Linked DNA regions of Homo sapiens: region 1 is linked to region 2. The links are contacts of gene promoters, found by promoter capture Hi-C in blood cells and fetal thymus (Javierre and others, 2016). All regions are on one chromosome and are shown on one strand. The core of a region is centred on a gene start or on the middle of the fragment in contact, and the rest is flanking DNA. Distances in the headings are between cores, read along the strand shown.

The links. The method cuts DNA at HindIII sites, captures the fragments that hold promoters and counts their contacts. A CHiCAGO score of 5 or more calls a contact.
Region 1: a contact is called between the fragment with the promoter of SLC44A1 here and the fragment with the promoter of SMC2 in region 2, in 4 of 17 cell types (total CD8 T cells, activated CD4 T cells, total B cells and 1 more). The highest score is 9.2, in total CD8 T cells.

Annotation. Positions count from the first base shown.
Region 1 is chr9:105,242,019-105,245,975 of GRCh38, reverse strand. SLC44A1 (solute carrier family 44 member 1) reads right to left here and starts at 1,325. Exons shown (of 16, transcript NM_080546.5): 1 at 1,072-1,325. The coding sequence starts at 1,107. LOC112268038 (a long non-coding RNA gene) reads left to right here and starts at 383. Exons shown (of 3, transcript XR_002956866.2): 1 at 383-957. RefSeq lists silencers at 383-462, 803-942, 953-1,552 and enhancers at 1-778, 779-1,683. The HindIII fragment of the contact is 7,272 bases long and covers 1-3,957 here.
Region 2 is chr9:104,092,204-104,096,259 of GRCh38, reverse strand. It overlaps SMC2 (structural maintenance of chromosomes 2), which reads right to left and starts at 1,951. Exons shown (of 25, transcript NM_006444.3): 1 at 1,783-1,951; 2 at 708-936; 3 at 1-112. The coding sequence starts at 875. SMC2-DT (SMC2 divergent transcript) reads left to right here and starts at 3,786. Exons shown (of 3, transcript NR_121580.1): 1 at 3,786-4,056. RefSeq lists enhancers at 1,331-1,998, 2,217-2,536, 1,999-2,668. The HindIII fragment of the contact is 5,032 bases long and covers 1-2,384 here.

The DNA of each region.
Region 1 (3,957 bases), core at 76-2,575, 1.2 Mb before region 2:
TGATGCAGTATTCCTGATTGCTTTTTATAGTATTTGTAAATACACTCGCTAATCCACTAAATTAGGTAATTTACAAACAGGTCCTCTCAGTTATTAGTGGCCAGTAGTCGAGTTCTATTACATTTGATCCTCGTACAGTTGTCTAAACATTTCCACCCAGGTTAAGGGCTCGGATCCGAGAGAAGGAGGTTGGCGAAATTTGGATGGGGGCAGGGTAGAAGCTGAGAGAAATCTCTGCATCTCAGCCCTCAGCGACAACATTCAGCCAGTGCCCACAGAAAAACTAAATTCGGAACCTCTTCCTCCTGTTACACTGGCAACAAAGAGGGAGTTTCCGTAGCGCTCCCGTCACCCACCAGGTGCCCAATCTCCTTCCCAGCCCAGAGTCGGCGCTCCCGCAGGGGCCTCCGAGTGCGGGGAGGCCGCGGGGCCCGGGTCACGGCACTAAGGGGGGATGGGGTGCAAGCGAGCAAGCGAGGTCTGCGGAGCGGGCCGTGGAAGGGCTCCGGGACCCGCTGAAACCATCTGAACCCAGCCAGGGGGCAGCGGGCAAGAGAAAAGGGACAGAATATCTAATGAAGCAGAAACTGGAATTCGGTGGGAGAGGTGAAGAGCTCTTGCTGGGGGTACACCTGCGAGGAGCACAGAAAACGGGCGGCGGATGGCGGGGAGACTCCACGGAGGTGGAAGAGAGGAGCCAGGCCCGGAAGAACAGGGAAGGGGATGCCACCTGGGGCAGAGGAGGCGCCAGTGCAGCCTCTACCTGCAGGCGGGCGGGACGGGCAGCTCAGGTGTGACTGGGAGGAGGGGGCCGACTGGGGAAGGGGCCGGGAAGAGCTGAGGGCGCACTAGGCGCCGCGCAGAGGCGCCTTTGAGTCGGCAGCCGCGGAGCCAGCGCACGGGCATCGGCGGGACCCGGCGGACGGAAAGGCGGAGTGGGGGTCTTTGGACTGCACGGTGCGCTCAGGGGAGGCTGGGGACAGCGAGAGGTATCGGGCGGCGGGCGCCCGCCGCGCGACGCGGCGCACGGGAGGCATCCGGGCGGGCGGCCGGGAGGCGGGAGCCCCTCACCTGCGCGGCGGAGGAGGCGGAGCTGCAGCAGCCCATGGCGGGGCCGAAGGAGCCCGGAGGCGGCGCCGGGCGCGCAGCTACGCCCCGGAGCCCCTCGGCATGCGAGCCGGCGGGCGCCCGGGGAGGGCGCGGCCTGGCACCGCACGGCTAGGCGGCGGCGGCGGCTGCAGCGGCGGCTGGTACTCAAGAGGCGGCGCGGCTAGAGGCAGGCGCCGGCCACATCCCCCGGCGGCGGCGACGGCGGCTACGCGTCTCCTGCTCTGCTCCTGCTGCAGCAGCTGCTCCCCAGCGGAAAGGGGCGGGCGGCGGCGGCGGCGGCGCCTCCCTCTGTCCCCCCGCCTCCCGCCTCCCGCGCCCAGTCCCTCTCCCGCTCCCTCTCCCGGGCCGCCGCCTCCTCAGCGCCGCGCGCGTCTCCCATCAGACTCCCCGCCCCCAGTGCAGCGCCGTGCTGGTGGCAGGGCGGCGGCAGCCAGAACAAGGCCGGGCCCTTCCGCGCGTGTCAGAGGCTGCGCGGCGCCGGGCTTATTTAGCTGTGGCACCGAGGCAGCTCTCTGCCTCGAGGCTGGAGGGCAACGCGGTCTGAGGCAGCCAAAGACCGGGCCAACTCGCTGCCAAAAAGGGGCCGGATTGCTTCCGGATCTAGGAGGCAAGCGGGACTTCTCCCTCTCCCTACTGGACGCACAACTCAGGATCCTGATGGCTTCTTACCGCCCCGTCGGCTGTTTTTTTTCTCCAGAGGAAAGCGTACACAAGAAACCTTTCCTGGAGAAGGAATAGGTGATAAGAAGACGGGAAGAAACAAGCATCTGTTGCTACTGTCCCCATTTTGCTGATGTGGAAACTGAGGCTTGAAAGGGACCAAGAACCTAATGAAATGTTCCCAAGGTTGAAATGGTAATAAATAGCCAGAAATGAGGAAAAGGCAAAAAGTTATCCAGGCTCGCAAGTCAAAGCCATACTGGATCTAAGCTAAACTTTCTTATACAGGATAGTCTACAAAAAACAATAAGGGGACATTAATTTATTCATATTAAAAATACTTACTGAAGACACACTACGTTCCAGTGACTAGTACTGGGAATAAAGAGGCGAGCAAAAGAGACTTACCAAGTTCCTGTTGCTAAATCAGTAAGACTCAAGGAAGTAGCAACAAGTTAGAGTAGACGTGGTAACTACCTTCAAGAAATTTACAATTCCAAACGAGTCGTTAGGAAATACAGTATGAGGTGAAAACAGTTAAAAAGTGAAAGAAATAAAACTAAAGATAATGATGTTAAAAAAAACCCCACATTATCAGGCACTGTTATAGCCTTCATATGTCATTTCATCTTGTCAAAGAATGTCTCAAAAGACAGCCACAGGAAAGAAAAGAAAAACTTTATTTGCAAAGCTGCAAGGGAGTGAGACTTCCAAAAGGACTGATTCACCAAATATGAGACATCAAGTTTTAAAGATTAGTTAAAGTATAGAGGGAAGAAAAGAACACAGAATTAAATTGACTTTACATGCACTGAAAGGGAATCTAAGCCAAGGAAAGTTGGAATGGTAGCCTGTAAGGGGACAGCTACAGAAAGGGCCAGGGAAGAAGAATTCCTAATTGATGTTTTCCTATGCCATTTCCTGAGTTCGTGACTGTGGACGAGTTATCTCTCCAAATCTCATTGTCCGCTTCTGTGAAATGCTGGTAGCAGGGATGACTGCAAAGGCTTGTGGTCAAGATTAAATAACATAAGAAAGTGCTGCTAGGTCAGCAAGTACTCAACTGATTGAGATCTTGAATTCTTCTGCATTCTTTCTAGTTTCCTTTCAGGTTAATCAGAGGGTCCACCATACCACGGAGCTGGCGAATCCTACATGTGTTTCCCATAACCATTAAACCAATAAATACAAGTGAAGACATAAAACTAATGGTTCTAGTCCCAATTCTGGTTGTAAACTCCAGAATTAGATTGTAAACTCCCTGAGAACAAGGAAAAGTATTTTCTCCTTTGTATCTCCCTCAGCTCTCTCAAATGTTTGTTGAATTATTCAGTGCAGCCAAGAATAAAAAACATTCCCTTGAGATTTTCCCTCAAAGCCAGAAAAGTACATCTTGTTTTTAACTCGGGGAGGAGGCTGAAAGTAAAACTACAGTCCTAAACAAGAAGCCATCTGTCTTCCTTCTTTATAGTCAAGGAAAGGGGAGTTGTTTCTCTTTGCAGAGTCAATATGGGAGCATTTCTCTCAGATTAGAAAAATCTTTTTGGCTAGTGCTGCCGTTCCGTGTAGTAGCTAGTGCTTATTCTGTAATTGGAACTGTAGAAGGAGATAAATGCGTAACAGACTGTGGCAGTGCTTCATAAAATGTATTTTGCTTTTTTAGAGATCTCTTTCCTAGACATAGATAATGGGTGAATATAATTGAAAGCAACTACAGTCCGTTGTGCTTGACTGATCTGCACTCTGGTTTTCCCTTTAAGTGTTAATAGAACTAAGAGTTCTAAGATTCTGCAAGGTGCTTTGTAAATACACCAATTATGTATGTATGCACCATATATGCATATGAATCTGATGTTTCAAAATTATACTTCGTCATTAGCATGAGGGAAACTAACAGCTCTTGCATTGATATGCTGTACCTTCTAAGAATGAGTCTCTTTCCCATCCCCCTCATGCCCAAAAAAAGCCTCGTAAAAGGAGTGATTTAGAGAGGGGCAAATTACTATTCCTTTTCACTCTTATAAACAAGTACACACAGCATTCAATGAAATTAAACCACAGCAAACTCAGAAATCACAAAAGGGATTTTTTTTTTCTTAAGCCAGTGATCAGGGTACTTATCTACTATGGTGAGATGTTACCAGGGCAAGCCCCTTCGTAGGGGCTTAGGTTGTTTTTCTTTTTCTT
Region 2 (4,056 bases), core at 702-3,201:
CTAAAGGACTTTGCTTTTTGTCAGAATTATCAAAAGTGATTGACACAGAGGCTTTGGTAATACCAGCCTGCCCATTTTTGTAAACTAAATCTTGTAAATTAGAAGCCCGAACCTAAAATAAAATATGAAAAGTGTAACAATTACAAAACTCCCTACCGTACAAAGCAGCACTAAAAATGGGTCCCTTGCTGTTGGAAAACCCACCAACGTAGTGTCCATTAAGTAGACAAGGTTAGGCAGCTGCATCCTCTGGCAAGAAAAACAAGGAAAATAGGCAACAACCTGCAATGGACACTTTTCTCTACAGAACCTTTTCAACCCTGAATTGAATTGTTTCCTATTCATTTTTTAATAAAAAGTTACTTTGCAAGATATAAGGAAATACTGTCCCAAAGATTTTCACTAGTCATTCAATCCATTAATAGGATTTGAAAAGGCATCATTACACAGGGTTGAAAATACTCTGGAATGAGACTGCTTTACAGTCAGAATGCCTGAGTTTTGAGGCACTGTTACTTCTAAACATCTCTAAGTTTCTATTTTCTCATCTAAAGGAGTAATATTACTTTCCTTAAAAGGTTGCAGTGAGGTGTAATTTACAAAAAGTATAAAAACACAAATGAAGAGAATATCGGGACGTCTCCAAAGTTCAGTGAGGATTCTCCTGCCAACTTAAATTCAAATAAATCAGAAAGTTTACACTTTACCTGAGACAGGTTGGAGATGCCCAGCAAAAAGCAGATGGAGTCCAATATGTTGGATTTCCCACTACCATTTAAGCCAGTGATAGCATTGAAGAGGGGGTCAAAACCATTGACTTCGGTCCTCTGAGCATAGGACTTGAATCCCTCTAGAATAATTGACTTAATATGCATTTTCGATACTGTCTTGGGTCAGCAAACCTCTGACAGGAATCAAACAGGCCACAAACCAGTTCTGTACGAAACAGAAATACCACCACCTAAGTGGAATGTAAACCTGGAATCATAATGAACACGAGGCAAAAACAGCAACGATAGGGTGATAGAAATAAAACAGCCACTTGACAAACTATCTTGTCTGATGTAAAGACATCGTTCATCTACTCAAAAATATACCAGAGTTAGCCACTATCTGGAAATTAAACCATTCAACTGGGAAGTCTTAACTATTTCTTCTACCCGTTTTTCCAGGCTTGCCTTCTACTTTTATCATACTCTACCTAAACAAAGACTATGGATTATTACATATCCCATTATCTTTGCCTATAATGTGCTTTTCTCTGATACTGACATAGCTTACTCTCTACTGCACTCACGTCTTTGCTCAAATGTCACCTTACTGGAGTCCTCCCTGACCTCCCTATGTCACCTCTCCACAATCCTTCACTCGGCTTTCTTTTTCCTTCATGGTACTTAAAGCTGATATTAGACGGTCATTACTTGTCTGTAAGTTCCCGCAGTGTCTTCACCTACGTCCGTCATTGCATCCCCGAATTGTGCTTGACTCCGGGAGGAGGGGAAGTCATTTAAGTATTTACTAGAGATGAGATGTATCTCATATTCTCCAACTTCTTGCTTTTACTCAGGCTTTTACCTCGCTTCTCCAGGCCTGTCTACACCTCTTCGCCCTACTCCAAGGTCGAACAGAAGCTAGCCTTTATTTCTAAGGATCACCTAAGGTCCCTCTGCCACTGGTCCCCCTCCCTACAGCCCCCGCGCCCCGCGCCCCGCCTCCCGCCTCCCGCCTCCCGCCAGGAAGTCTGGCCCGGCCCAACCGGCCGTGCTCACGCACACGCCTCACCGCTGCCTCAGGCCAGGGGCTTGACGCACCCCAAAAGCTCCTCCGGGTCACAAAGGCAGGGAACAGAACAACTCTCTAGCCGGGGCCGCTACAAAGCGAACTTCACCATAGCGGCTACAACACCTGCCACACCGCTCTCAACACCCGCGCCGGAACTATTTATTCCTTTGAATTTCGGCGCGAGCAAAGGACCCCACCTCCATTGCTTATTTCCTGTGCTGGTGCCTAGGAGCTGCCTGTCTTTAGGGTTCAATTTTTCCCCTACACTCGAAGGATTAAAGCCGCAGGGCAATAGAATGAGAGTCTCGATAATGGTAGCTCCGGGGACTCCCCGGCAGGGGCCTGGGCACTACAGGAGCAGATAGTGTATGTTCACACCGGCGTCCGGCACTCTATGGTCAGCCCCACACCTCGGCCCCGGGTCCTCGCGCTTCGCCAGCCCCGCCCCGCCTCGGTCCCTCTAGTTCGCGTTAGGCACACTGCAGACTCCGCCTTCTCCAGTCTGCGGTGCTGGCTGTGGCTTACTTTTCTCTCCTCAAAGCGACAGTTAGGAAGTGGAGAGGCATTCTATGAGTGTTCTCGTCGGTTCTGTTTTGGAAGCTTCAGAATCTTCTCGGGTTGGCTCAGATTGCTGCAAAATAAAAGCTGTACTTCTTGGGGCCAGAGAGGCACCGTCCTTCGGGGGACTCTGGCCCGCGTCCTGGCTCCGCCCCGTACTGGCCTCGGACCTCGGGGAGCGTTTTTATCTGAAGTTTCCACGTCGGAAAGGGATCGTAGTCTACCGAGAGCTGTTCCGAGCCCAGAGGAGAAATTGTGTGGTGCTAAATAGCTATTCATCTCCCTTATACCGGAAAGCGTTGTAATGATAAGCCGACCTAACCTGTTGGGGATTTTTTCTGGAAACCTTTTAAGACAGTTCATGTTATTGAGTTCTGAATATTAGGCTATATTGCAAGGGGCTTTTTAAAATCCACGTAGCAACCCTATGAAATCAGAAATTGCCCTCGTTTTACAAATGAGTTAAATGAGACCAAGTAAAAGGTTAAACAGCTTGTCTAGTAAGCTGGGATTTGTTCCCAGGCGGTCTAGCTCCAGATTGCATGCTTTTAAATACTAGGCTTCATGCATAGAATCTAGTATTATTAGCCGATCCTATTATTAGTATGTATTGTTCTTTAGGAAGAAAAAACGTGTCAGGATTGCTCACGTTTCCAAGCACGTTGATACTTAAGAGTTAGGAAGGGCTTAACTCCGAATGGGTATGGTGTTACCCTAAGTGAGGTTCAAAAAGATGGTGTGGGCAACAATGCTATTTTGGAATGGCTTGATCCTTTTGGGCTTCCATAACAAAATATCCTAGACTGGGTAGTTTATGAACCACAGAAGTTTATTCTTCACATTTCTGAAGGCTGGAATGTCACAGAATAAGGTGTGTCTAGGGAGGGGTGCTTTCTCTTTAGTGGATAGCACCTTCTGGCTCTGTCCTCGCATGGTGGAGAGGCAGAGGCCCTCGCTTGGGCCTATTTTATAAGGACCTTAATCCCATTCCTCACTTCCCAAGATGCCACTTGCTAAAACCGTCAGTTCGGGAGTTAGGATTTCAAAATGTGCATTTTGAGGGACACATTTAGACCATAGCGTAGGTCATGTTTTTAAAGTTGCTTTCTTGGCCCTGGAATGGCAATGCAGTCATCTGAATTGGTCTTAACCTACCAGGAATGGGCTTATATTTTGAAAATATTTCTCGATAAGGGAGTAAAATAAGTTGTATGGGTTTTTTGTTTAAGAAAGGATTCCTTTGTTTACTCTGGTATGCTTATCCACTTCTGTGATGTCAACCATGGGTAGTGACCTAACATTAATTTAATTCAACAGATATCTTTGTCTGCCTTGATTCCTGCATCCCCTGGGCTCCACAGCTATTCACTTGTATTGATTCTGTTAACTCTTACACATTAACTTTGAGCTGTGTCTCCTTCCTTTTATCATTTTGTGAGTAAAGAATTTTAATTTGCCAACAAATCCTAATGTGGACTTTGTCACGTTGTGAAATAAAGTGATTTTTTGGTATGGAAATATGTGTTAAGACAGACTGTTAGTCTTTGCACTTTAACAACTAGCTGATACACTTACGTCACATGGATGAAAACATACACAAGTGCACTGTTGTTGGATAAGGACTCCTGGGTGGTTAGAAGAATGTGCAGATCTAACTACTCCCATTAAGACCATTGATTAAAATGAAAAATGCTTATAAAGGTGGAGATCTCTCAG